Linked DNA regions of Homo sapiens: all the other regions are linked to region 1. Evidence: promoter capture Hi-C in 16 types of primary human blood cells and fetal thymus (Javierre and others, 2016). All regions are on one chromosome and are shown on one strand. The core of a region is centred on a gene start or on the middle of the fragment in contact, and the rest is flanking DNA. Distances in the headings are between cores, read along the strand shown. Region 1 holds the start of ZNF441 (zinc finger protein 441). Region 2 overlaps ZNF20 (zinc finger protein 20). Region 3 overlaps ZNF136 (zinc finger protein 136).

Evidence for each region. Contacts are between HindIII fragments. The CHiCAGO score rates a contact against its expected background, and 5 or more counts as called.
Region 2: a fragment that was not itself captured here is called in contact with the fragment with the promoter of ZNF441 in region 1 in 3 of 17 cell types (total CD4 T cells, naive CD4 T cells and monocytes); the score reaches 6.1 in total CD4 T cells.
Region 3: a fragment that was not itself captured here is called in contact with the fragment with the promoter of ZNF441 in region 1 in 1 of 17 cell types (activated CD4 T cells); the score reaches 5.2 in activated CD4 T cells.

The regions. Positions count from the first base shown.
Region 1 is chr19:11,764,339-11,768,538 of GRCh38, forward strand. It overlaps ZNF441 (zinc finger protein 441), which reads left to right and starts at 2,662. Exons shown (of 4, transcript NM_152355.3): 1 at 2,662-2,858. The coding sequence starts at 2,856. RefSeq lists an enhancer at 2,823-2,922 and silencers at 2,993-3,132, 3,583-3,692. The HindIII fragment of the contact is 9,985 bases long and covers 1,754-4,200 here.
Region 2 is chr19:12,128,919-12,133,201 of GRCh38, forward strand. It overlaps ZNF20 (zinc finger protein 20), which reads right to left. Exons shown (of 4, transcript NM_021143.4): 4 at 2,432-4,283. The coding sequence ends at 3,669. It overlaps ZNF625-ZNF20 (ZNF625-ZNF20 readthrough (NMD candidate)), which reads right to left. Exons shown (of 8, transcript NR_037802.1): 8 at 2,432-4,283. Among named protein-coding and RNA genes, the nearest start is that of ZNF20, 9.3 kb to the right of the region's middle. The HindIII fragment of the contact is 1,444 bases long and covers 1,408-2,851 here.
Region 3 is chr19:12,176,691-12,180,883 of GRCh38, forward strand. All of the region lies in intron 1 of ZNF136 (zinc finger protein 136), which reads left to right. Among named protein-coding and RNA genes, the nearest start is that of ZNF136, 16 kb to the left of the region's middle. The HindIII fragment of the contact is 878 bases long and covers 1,598-2,475 here.

The DNA.
Region 1 (4,200 bases), core at 1,412-3,911:
GGTTTAAGAAAGGGGTTCAGTTTCAATCTTTTGCATATGGCTAGCCAGTTATCCCAGCACCATTGATGAGTCCTTCCCCACTGCTTGTTTTTGTCAGCTTTGTGAAAGATCAGATGGTTGAAGGTGAGCAGCATTATTTCTAGGCTCTCTATTCTGTTCCATTGGTAATGTGTCAGTTTTTGTAAAAATACCTTACTGTAGCCCTGTAGTATATAGTTTGAAGTCTGGTAGCATGATGCCTCCAGCTTTGTTCTTTTTGCTTAGGATTGCCTTGACTATTTGGGACTTTTTAAGTTATTTTTTTCCAAGAACTAAGTCTTGCATTTGCTAATCTTTTGTATGTTTTTTTTTTTTTTTGTATCTCAATTTCCTTCAGTTTAGCTCTGATTTTGGTCATTTTAGCTCTGATTTTGGTCATTTCTTGTCTTCTGCTAGCTTTGGGATTGGTTTGCTCTTGCTTCTCTAGTTCTTCTAGTTGTGATATTGGGTTATTAATTTCAGATCTTTCTTTTTGATTTGGGCAGTTAGTGCTATAAATTTCCATCTTAACACTTCTTTAGCTGTGCCCCAGAGATTCTGGTATGTTGTATCTTTCTTCTCAGTTTCCAAGAATTTCTTGATTTTGGTGTTAATTTCATTATTTACTCAGAAGTCATTCTGAACCAGGTCATTTAATTTTGATATAATTGTATGGTTTGGGGAGATTTTCTTAGTCTTGATTTCTATTTTTATTGCACTGTGGTCTGAGAGTGCAGTTGGTATGATTTTGTTTGCTTGTTTTTTTAATTTGCTGAGGGTTATTTTATGTCTGATTATGTTACTGATTTTAGAGTATGTGCCATGTGGTGAGGAGAAGAATGTATAATCTGTTGGTTTTGGGTGGAAAGTTCTGTAGATGTCATATCCATTTGGTCAGGTGTTGGTGGAAGGCTAAGGAGGAGCAAAGGCAAATGTTACATGGCGGCAGGCAAGAGAGCATGTACAGGGAAACTGCCCTTTATAAAGCCATCAGATTTCATGAGACTTATTCACTATCACGAGAACAGCATGGGAAAACCGCCTCCATGATTCAATTACCTCCCACTGGATCACTCCCATGACATGTGGGGATTATGGGAGCTGCAATTCAAAATGAGATTTGGGTGAGTAAGTCTCATGAGATCCGATGGCTTTATAAAGGGCAGTTCCCCTGCACACGCTCTCTTGCCTGCCGCCATGTAACATTTGCTTTTGCTCCTCCTTTGCCTTCCACCATGATTGTGAGGCCTCCCCAGCCATGCTGAACTGTGAGTCAATTAAACCTCTTTTTCTTCGTATCACCATGGGTGCCAGCTCCCAGTTAATAACGCTTTTTTTTTGTTTGTTTTTAAATAGAGATGGGGGTTTCACCACATTGCCCAGGCCGGTCTTGAGCTCCTGAGCTCAAGCAATCCACCCACCTCAGCCTCCCAAAGTGGTGGGATTGCAGGCATGAGCCACGGTGCCTGGCCTCATAATGCTTTTATATCTGGTATTCTTCATAAAAATATGAAGATGAATGTTTTCAAATTCAAAGTCTAATGTCTCAGCCTTTGATTGAAGCATTTAATTCAATAACATTTATAGGCTTGATGGAAGGAGCATTTCCACGCTGTGTTTAGGAGACAGGAGGGCAAATTGAACTCCCAGAGTTAAATCCATTAGTGCCCCTGACTCATCCCCAGGTTCTGATCCACCCTAGGGCTCCATTTCAGGAATTATCGTCTGGCCTCCAAGCTTTGGAATATGTTTGGCCTCCTGAAAGTGGTTGACTTGTGAACTGTGTGTGGATGCAGCAGGCTGCTTATCTGAGCTAGTTCAAGTTTTTGCTTTATAAAATATTGCCGCCATATAATTCCAGTTTTTCCACACATTTAACAATTTTATTTATTTCTTTTTTCTTTTTTCTTTTTTTTTTTTTTTGAGACGGAGTCTCCCTCTGTCTCGCCCACTCTCTCACTGCAGCCTCTGCCTTCCAGGTTCAAGTGATTCCTCTGTCTCAGCCTCCTGAGTAGCTGGGACTACAGGCGTGCGCCACCACATCCGGCTAATCTTTGTATTTTAGAGACGGGATTTCACCATGTTGGCCAGACTGGTCTCGAATTTCTGACCTCAGGTGATCCACCTGCCTCAGCCTCCCAAAGTGCTGGGATTACAGGTGTGAGCCACCACGCCCGGCTTTGTTGGGGTGTTTTTATATTCTGCACTGAAAATTAGTAGATTGAGACATAAGGTGGGAGAAAGGCTTGGCCTGTGCAGCCAACAGCCTCATCCAAAACTCCTGATTCCTGGAGGACATCAGCCCCTCCCTTCTGCTGCAGTGTGGCCTGGGCTCCCTTCCTGCTCTCAAATCAGGGGATAGCTCCACTGGACAGTGAGTCTGGAATTTCCTGCACAGACTTGTGGGTCCCTGTCCAAGAGGAAAAAGGAGGAAGGTCAGGACATACTGCCTAAATGCAAATGTCCCCTGGGAGGGGGTCAGGTCACAGCGCAGGGAGGAAGCTAGTCCTCTCAAGGCCTGTCTGGAATCTGTTTATCAGGTTCCACTCCGCTGCCCGAGATCGCTTCTTCCGTTACTCAGTGCCCGGGGGAGGGACCTGGCGCACTATCCAATCAGGGCCGCGGGGCGGGGTCGTGAGAACTGTCAATCAGGCGCACTGACCGGAGGAGGGTGCAAGGTTCAAAGAGCCCGCCGAGTCTTCTCCACGCCCCTGCACTGGGCTCCGGGTTCTGTCACTGAGAGACGCCCTGGAACGTCTGTGGCAGCTTCTGTCTCGCTGGGACCCGCACTGACAGCGGGAGGCAGAGGGAGGAACCTGGACGCCGGAAGCCGGGAAATGGTGAGTGTGTGAGGTCTGGTGTCCCGACGCGTGAGAGGAGAGACTGGTTGGAACCGGCCGGAACCGGCTGTGGTGGCACCAGGTCTTCCCCGCCGGCGACACCCTGGCGCAGCTCGGCCCTCGGTTCCCTCGGCCGCACGATGGGGCTGGGGCGGCAGCCGGGACCCCGGGCGTCCTGTCCCGTCCCTGCGCGGCCACTGCGGCCCTGGCCCTGGAGGCCTGTCTGGGCAGCTCCGCGCCCGCAGTCCTGCGTCTCCCCAGATTGTGCGGCTGTAACCGGCACAGGTTCGCGGCCCGAGTCACTGCACCGAGACGCCGAGGGCTGCAGCAGAAACAGTTTAATAGGGGGAGAGGGGAGGACACCCCAGATCCGCCTTCCTGAGAGGTTTGGGGATGGGGTGTTTAGGGGTGTGGACAGGGGCGGCTGGGGCGTGGGGTCGCTGGATGGTGGGGAAGTGAGGGGTGACTCTTGGGACTGGAGGTGAAGAAACCGCATTCTTCTGCTGAGTGGGTTCCCTTGTGGGGTCTTCAGCCTGGTTGGCGCCAGCCTTTCCGCTGGAATTCAGGATCTGAGAAAGAACTCAGGCGACTCTTGAGCAACTCTCAGAGATCTCATCCCCAAGCACAATGGCGAAGCCGGCGGTCAGCATCTGCTGTGGCCTGACTCTTGGGGAGGCGGCCCCGCGAGGCAGCGGGGCTGAGGGCACCTGGTTAATATCTAACTGCAATCTCGCCTCCAGCCTGGCTCGCAGTTCTGTGAACCCGGTGAGGAGGCTGCACGGTGATGACAGGTCACCAGGCAGACTCGTGTGTGGGGTTTGTGTGTGGGAGGAGTTGTGGTCTGTGTGGTCCCCTGTCCCTTCTTTCTTCCCAAGGGTGACCCGTTCGCCTTCGAGTCTTCCAAAGATGTGGGCAGCAGGGTCTCAAGTCCACCACTGTGTTCTCTCATCCTAACTCCTCCTAGGGCCGACAGAAAATCCCTTGGCTTCCAGAGCCTTCCTCAGGCTTTCTCTCCTCAATTCACAGCAACTTTATGAACTCCTTGTCCCCCAGTTTATTTTTCAAACAGAGGCTAGTATTTTAATTGTCATTTTGTTTATACATAGCAATATATGGCTCTTTGTAAAAGGTTTTGTGTTTGTGAACATTTCACATGAGAGGAAGCAGAGAAAAACCACCAGACATTTCGCTGTAAAAAAAATGAATATTAATAAATAAAATCTTTGTTACTGTCCTCCCTTCATCATCCCTAGACAGAGACACCTTTTGAGAATGTCTTTGGATTAAGTTTCCTCTTTGGAAACGTTACAGAGTGATGAGTCCCCAGCCCATCCTCTATGGT
Region 2 (4,283 bases), core at 880-3,379, 360 kb after region 1:
CTGTGTACACCTGAGTTGCTTGAGTGGTTCTAAACAAATGAATTTAACTTTCATTGTGGTGTTGAATTTTTGTATATACCTTTTATGAATTATTTTGACCGTGGGCTGACCAATATCATGAGTAAAAGATTTAAAAGGTCTAGAGGAGCCAGGCATGTTGGCTCATGCCTATAATCCCAGCACTTTGGGAGGCCGAGGCAGATGGATCGCTTGAGGCCAGGAGTTTAGAGACCAGTCTGGCCAACATGGTGAAACTCCAATTCTACAAAAAACACAAAAATTAACTGGGCATGGTGGTGTTCGCCTGTAGTGCCAGCTACTTGGGAGGTTGTGACGAGACTTGCTTGAACCTGGGAAGCAGAGGTTGCAGTGAGCTGAGATCGTGCCACTGCAATTCAGCCTAGGCAACAGAGCGACACTCTGTCTCAAAAAAAAAAAAAAAAAAGCCATAGGTAGGAAGCAAAATGTAAATAATGAGAAAAATATATATCTTAAGTTCACATTTGAAATATGTAAGAAAATTTGGTGATGCTGCAAATAAACTGAGGATTGTAATTATATAAATTACAAGTTTTTCCTGAGAAAAAACACATTTTCAACCTAAGTACATTGATCTTAAAGGATTTTTCCTTTGCTTTTTGACCTTGCTTTGTGAAAAAGTGCAAAAATAAGACATGAATAGTCAAAATAAGAATTTTTGGGCCAGGCGTGGTGGCTCACACTTATAATCCCAGCACTTTGGGAGGCCGAGGTGGGCGGATCACGAGGCCAGGAGATCGAGACCATCCTGGCTAACATGGTGAAACCCTGTCTCTACTAAAAAAAAAAATACAAAAAAATAGCCAGGCGTGGTGGCGGGCACCTGTAGTCCCAGCTACTCGGGAAGCTGAGGCAGGAGAATGGCGTGAACCAGGGAGGCGGAGGCTTGCAGTGAGCCGAGATCGCGCCACTGCCCTCCAGCCTGGGCAACAGAGCAAGACTCCATCTCAAAAAAAAAAAAAGGAATTTTTGGCCAGGCATGGTGGCTCACACCTGTAATCCTGGCACTTTGGGAGGCCGAGGCAGGTGGATCACATGAGGTCAGGAGTTTGAGACCAGCCTGGCCAACATGGTGAAACCCTGTCTACTAAAAATACAAAAAAATAGCCAGGCATGGTGGCAGGTGCCTGTAATTCCAGCTACTTGGGAGGCTGAGGCAGGAGAATCACTTGACCCCAGGAGGCAGAGGTTGCGGTGAGCCAAGATTGCACCACTGTCCTCCAGACTCTGTCTCCAAAAAAAAAAAATTCATATCTCACAAATCAAGGTATTTTCCATATGTCATCACACATAGTTAAGGTTTGGTCAGTCAGTGATTGCTTCTATGTCTGCTGGGACTGGGATTTTTACTCTAGGGAGACTGAAATAAGCTTTTGTGAAGAGAAGCACCCATGACACCTTAAAGGAAATGATCGGATTGTTCCATGCATGACTTTTCCACGATGTCATTAGCTTCATAATATTAGCATAAGAGGGTTCCTGACAAGTTTGCATCAACAGCATGTTACCAGAGAAAGAAAGACTTGATTGGAATAGTGATGCTGACTTTGTTCTTTACTGGGCAGGAAATTCAGTTTTCAAAAACATATTGGCCCCATAGGACTCAAGGTGATTTTTTTAAAAAAGTAGTAGCCAATTGTGGTGGCTCATGTCTGTAATCCCAGAACTTGGGGAGATGGAGACAGAAGAATCACATGATCCAGCAGTCAATGACCAGCCTGGGAAACAGGGAGACTCCATCTCTACAAAAAATAAATAAATAAAATCATAGTATATACCTTGATAAGAAGTGAATTTATAGATTTTAACTGAGGTATGTTATGGTTAACAATGTCCATAAATTGTAGGGAATATATCAGGGTTTAGAGAATAGTATGGTAAAAACTGGTCCAGAAGTCTGATGGCTGGCCTCCCCTCGCCAGAAGGCCGAGTCTTTTGCCCCTGAACAGGCACATGTCATACACCTGCAATGTGAGATGATGCTCTTCAGTGACCATGATGGATCAATACAAAAATAACTAATTCTTGGCAGGGCACAGTGGCTCATGCCTGTAATCCCAGCACTTTGGGAGGCCGAGGCGGGTGGATCACGAAGTCAGGAGATCGAGACCATGGTGAAACCCTGTCTCTACTAAAAATACAAAAAATTAGCCAGGCGCGGTGGCGGGCACCTGTAGTCCCAGTTACTTGGGAGGTTGAGGCAGGAGAATGGCGTGAACCAGGAAGCGGAGCTTGCAATGAGCCGAGATCGAGTCACTGCACTCCAGCCTGGGCGACAGAGCAAGACTCCGTCTCAAAAAAAAAAAAATTAAAATAAAAAAAAACCTCATTCTTTAACCATGTCTTGAAATGTGACAGAAGAAAACACTTTAAATTGCAAACATACCCCAAATTTTTCTCTTCTCACGAAATGTGACTATCTTTTAATATCTCACACATCTCACAGTCATCTATGGCTTTTGGTCATATTCATTACCACAGTATATTATTACACCCTCTTTGACGACACTTATGCCACTGGTGGTCTTTGGTCAGAAGTCACTCATAAGAACATGAGATCACCTTTGGTATTTAGAATAGATGAAAATTCATGATCCAGATAAAAACTAAGAATATAAGCATGAAAAGTAAAATCTACATGAGGAAAAATATGCCTGACATCCACATGGCAACACTGACTCACAGTGACCACCGGATAACATGGTAACATTATCAACTTGATCTAATACATGATGTTAATGGGAGGTTGTAATGTAGCTTCTTCATTAAAAAATAATAATTGTTAGTATGCAGTTGTTATAAACAGTTAATAAGCTTATTTCTAAAATACATGAACAGAAGTATTTGTTGCCAAGAAACCGCATTAGTGTTTTTAGTCAGGTATACTCATACAAAGTTAAAAACGAAGTGAGACATTACATTCAGTTGTGAATAACAGCAAATGCTTGAAATTTCCTGATAAGAGCAAGGTGGCTCTTCTCACATAAAAGCCCTTGGTGAGACCAATCACTGCACAATGCAGCAGAGGAACAAGCTCCCATCTAGTTGGTTTAATCAAGAACAGGCTCGCTAATCCGTAGAAACAACAATGCTTGCAATACAAAGTAGACCTCTTAAACCAACTCAATCTATAGAAGAGTTGGGCATCAGTGAGTATTTCCAGCCATAACAACATTTATTAGTTCTCTGGTAAACATTTTAACATTTCTGAAGAAACAGCAAAGTGGGCATGTATCTTTAATGTGGAGCACTGGGGACATATCTGGAGACCTACAACTCTGAGGAACAGAGACAAGTGATTTGGGGGATATTCTCGATTAACAAGCCAAAGAATCAGGAAAATGGGCTGGAAGCGGGTAGCCACACACCTCTCTCCCTGTGTGGGGCCTCTAATATGTGACTGATGCCTTCCTTTTCTGTGCCTTTGAAATCTCATGCAAGATTGGCTATAGGTGAATTGTATTACGAAACCATCCAAGTTCTTCTAGATTTTATTGTCCTATCGCAAGTCTCTCTTCTCAATTCAAAAAGCAGTTATCCAGAGGTTCTTTCACCACTCTCTTTTCTTGTGTTTCAAAGGAAGTGGGACAACAGAAAGCTTCTCCCGTTGCTTCCACTAAAAGGATTTCTCATCTATTAATGGTATGAGTTCTTTCATGTTCTCGACATGAACTGGCACGAATAAAGGCTTTGCCACATTGCTTGCATTGATAGGGTTTCTCTCCAGTGTGAGTCCTTTCATGATATCGAATGTAATTGGAAATAAAGGCCTTACCACAGTGCTTACATTCATAGGGTTTCTCTCCAGTGTGAGTCCTTTCATGATATCGAATGGAACTGGAACAAGTGAAGGCTTTGCCACATACCTTACACTCATATGGCTTATCTCCAGTGTGTGTCCTTTCATGTATATGCAAGGAAGAGAAATACCTGAATGCTTTTCCACATTGCTTACATTCATGGGGCTTCTCTCCAGTGTGCGTCCTTTCATGTATACGCAAGGAAGAAAAATACTTGAATACTTTTCCACATTCCTTACATTCATGGGGTTTCTCTCCACTGTGCGTCCTTTCATGAATTTGAAGTTGTGAAGCACATCTAAAGCCTTTCCCACACTGCTTACATCCATAGGGTTTATCCTCAGTGTGTGTCTTTTCATGCCTTTGAAGGTCCGAGGTACATCTGAAGGCTTTACCACATTGCCTACATTCATAGGGTTTCTCTCCAGTGTGAGTCCTTCCATG
Region 3 (4,193 bases), core at 787-3,286, 410 kb after region 1:
CTGAACAAATAACCCTATCTGCCTGAAGCAGGGTGGGAGACAAGAAACAAGATATAAGTAGAATATGCAGTGTGTCAGATGGTGCTTAGTCCTAAGGAGAGAGAGAAAGCTGGGGAGGAGTGGAGAGGCCTGGGCTGTGTTTGTCTCTGCAAGCACCTGTTTATGTCTCTGAGGTGTTATCTCTGAGGGTTTGTGTGTCTACCTGGGTATGGCCACCTATATGTGCAGTGACAAAGTGTGAGTGATTTTGTATGTCTGATGGGGAGACAGAGGCTGTGTTTGTATGCCCTTTAAAATCTGGAATGCTTTTATTTCATTTTCTTGCCTGATTGCCCTGGTAGCATCTTTTAGCATGTTAAATAGCTGTGTCAAAAACAGACATCCTTGTCTTGTATTTGATCTTAGGGGGAAACATTCAGTGTCACCATCAGTATGATGTTATAGTGGGGTTTTCATGGATACCTTATTTCAGGTTAAGGAAGTTCCCTTCCATTTCCAGTTTACTGAATGTCTTCATGGTGGAAGAGGTATTGAAAGGATATTGACCCTTGTCAAATGTTTTTGATACTGATTCTATTAATATTGTGATTTTCAAATGTGAAAACAGTGTTGCTTTTCTGGGCTACGTCCCACTTAAGTATAGAAGTTTTTGTTTGTTTGTTTTTGTTTTGAGACGGAGTCTCGCTCTGTAGCCCAGGCTGAAGTGCAGTGGCGCGATCTCGGCTCACTACAACCTCTACCTCCCGGGTCCCAGTTCAAGCAATTCTCCTGCCTCAGCCTCCTGAGTAGCTGGGATTACAGGCACATGCCACCATGCCCAGCTAATTTTTGTGTTTTTAGTGGAGATGGGGTTTCACTATGTTGGCTAGGCTGCTCGTGAACTCCTGACCTCGTGATCCACCTGTCTTGGCCTCCCAAAATGCTGGGATTACAGGCATGAACCACCGCACCCAGACTTTTGAAAAATCTTTTTGGTAACAGTCATTCTCGCAGGTGTGATGTCTCATTGAGGTTTTAGTTTGCATTTCCCTAATGATTTGAGATGTTAAACATTTTTTCATGAATGTCTTTGTCATTTATATTTGCTCTTTTCAGAAATGTCTGTTTAGATCCTTTGCCCATTTGAAAAATTGGAGGCCAGGCCCAGTGGCTCATGCCTATAATCTCAGCACTTTGGGAGTCTGAGGCAGGTGGATTGCCAGATCTCGGGAGTCTGAGACCAGCCTAGGCAACATGGCAAAACCTCATCTCTACCAAATATACAAAAAATTAGCTGAGCATTGTGGCATGTACCTGTGGTCCCAGCTACTCCCAGCTGAGGTGGGAGGATGGCTTGAGCCTGGGAGGCAGAGGTTGCAGTGAGCCAAGATTGTGCCACTGCACTCCAATGTGGGTGTCAGAGTGAGACTCAATCTCAAAAATAAATAAATAATAAAAGTTTTAAATTGGATTGTTTTCTTGCTATTGAGCTGTTTGAATTCTTTATATATTTTGGATTTTAACACCTTATCAGATATATGGTTTGCAAGTATTTTCTCCCACTCCGTGTGTTGCCTGCCTTTCCACTCTGTTAATTGTTTCCTTTGCTGTGCTAAAAAGCTTTTTAGTTTGACATCCACATCCACAATGGTGCTGTCAAAAACAGCTACATGGGAACTTGTTTATGTACTCTTTCTGCAGTGTCTGGTTTCACCCAGAACTCTTTTGTGAGATTAAGCACCTTCCTCATATCAGGAAGATTGTGGGTCTTTCCTATTATTCACAGCTGAATCCCTGAGTTAGGTTTGATTGTATGTGATCAAACATAGTATGTATTATTTCCTCAAGCAACATTTTTGGACATGTTTCTTAGAAATAGTTTACTAACTGGTTTCGAACAGCATGTATGCTAACAAATGTTAATGTCTTTTTCATTTGCTGCTAAGTTATATAAAAAATTCCATTGCAATCATGGATCAGATCAACTTTATAATAAACTTTATAATTTTGTGGCGTTATTTGTTAAATATTGTGAATCAGGCGGGGAGGGGTGGCTCACGCCTGTAATCCCAGTACTTTGGGAGGCTGAGGTGGGTGGATCATGAGGTCAGGAGATCGAGACCATCCTGGCTAACACGGTGTAACCCTGTCTCTACTAAAAATGCAAAAATTAGCCGGGCGTGGTGGCGGGCACCCATAGTCCCTGCTACTCGGGAGGCTGAGGCAGGAGAATGGCATGAACCTGGGAGGCGGAGCTTGCAGTGAGCCGAGATCATGCCACTGCACTCCAGCCTGGGCAGCAGAATGAGACTCTGTCTCACAAAAGAAAAAAAAGAAAGAAAGAAAAAAAAAAAAGAAAAATTGTGAATCAATATTCTGTGCATACAATTTTAGGTGTGTTTTTTTCACATAAATTTTCATTTTCATGCTCATGTAGTCACAGTTTTTATCACAAGAATTATTTCTCATTCACTTATGATACCAAAAGTTAAATCAAGCTTTTAACCTTTTTCCAAAGATTATCAGGACCATAGCTCCTGTCAAAGAAGGTATAAAAAAAAGTCATCATAAATATGATAGTAAACCATACGTGACTGTGTGGTGTATCAATAGGAGAGCGCTCAAAAGAATTTCTTTTTTTTTTTTTCTTTTTTTTTTGAGATGGAGTCTCACTCTGTCGGCCAGGCTGGAGTGCAAGTGGCACAGTCTGGGCTTACTGCAACCTCTGCCTTCCAGGTTCAAGCTATTCTCCTGCCTCACCCTCCTGAGTAGCTGGGATTACAGGCACAGGTCACCATGCCTGGTTAATTTTTGTATTTTTTATAGAGACGGGGTTCCTCCATGTTGGCCAGGGTGGTCTCGATCTCCTGACCTCAGGTGGTCTGCCAGCCTCGGCCTCCCAAAGTGCTGGGATTACAGGCGTGAGCCACCACACCCAGCCCAAAAGAATTTCTTCTAGGACGTGTGCTTGCTTCAGGTGTATTGATTGCTATTCAAAGCAAGAAGCTTCTCTGGATTGTATACTATGAAGAAGCAAGGTTATTTCTGGCCTTGGTTATTATGATAGTTCTTACCCAGAAGTAAAAAAGATGGAGTGGCGCTAAGTTTATTACCTAAACACTGAAATATTTCTTATGATGAATTAGACATGGCTTCCCATAAGATACCTCAGTTGAAATATATAAATTCTAACTATTGATAATTTTTTTTTTTTGAGACAGAGTCTGGCTCTGTTGCCCGGGCTGGAGTGCAGTGGCGCAGTCTCGGCTCACTGCAAGCTCCACCTCCCGGGTTCACACCATTCTCCTGCCTCAGCCTCCCGAGTAGCTGGGACTACAGGTGCCCGCCACCACACCCGGCTAATTTTTTTGTAATTTTAGTAGAGACGGGGTTTCACCATGTTAGCCAGGATGGTCTTGATCTCCTGACCTCGTGATCTGCCTGCCTCGGTCTCCCAAAGTGCTGGGATTACAGGCGTGAGCCACCGCCCCCGGCCAACTACTGATAATTTTTAAAAGTCTCCCTTATTAGTCAAATTAGGCTAATGCCTCTAGGAAAGTTGTCAGAATATAAACCTAGCAAGGGACAGAGACATGATCACTATTCTAATCAAGCCTCTCTTGCTCAGATAATATGCTCTTGATGCTAATTTTTCAATATGCCTCATATGCCAGAACTGTAGACTCAGAACATCCAGAATTAAGCACAAATGATGCAGGCACTGAAGGCTCTGATATGGGAACACAAAGTGAATAAATTCTTGAAATCCTGGTGCTTATATTTTTGTGAGAAAGGAGAGGGGTTGAAAAAATGGTAAGACTGGTTTATAAGAAGGAAATAAGCACTTTGAAGGAAAGTAAATGATGGTGTGAGATAATACGGAAGCTGAGGGTGTGTGTATATGTTCTCTGTGGAGGGTGGCAACATCAGTGAGTGAAGAAATGTCACCATCGGTCATTTATATTTCCACCTCTTATACATCTTCAGCACCATTTCAGGAACTGCTTAAGTGTGGATGTAGATAGTGCATAGCAATATAGACAGTCCTGCCTTTTTGAGGTTAACAATAATGATTCCCCGTAAAGATATAGGTATGGCTTATTGTCATTTTTGCATTGGTTAAAAATTTTAATGCATGTAATATGTGATGCTGACTTTGGACATGGGTATCTGGAACCTGGAGGAAGGCACACCACTGCATACGGTGTGTGCTA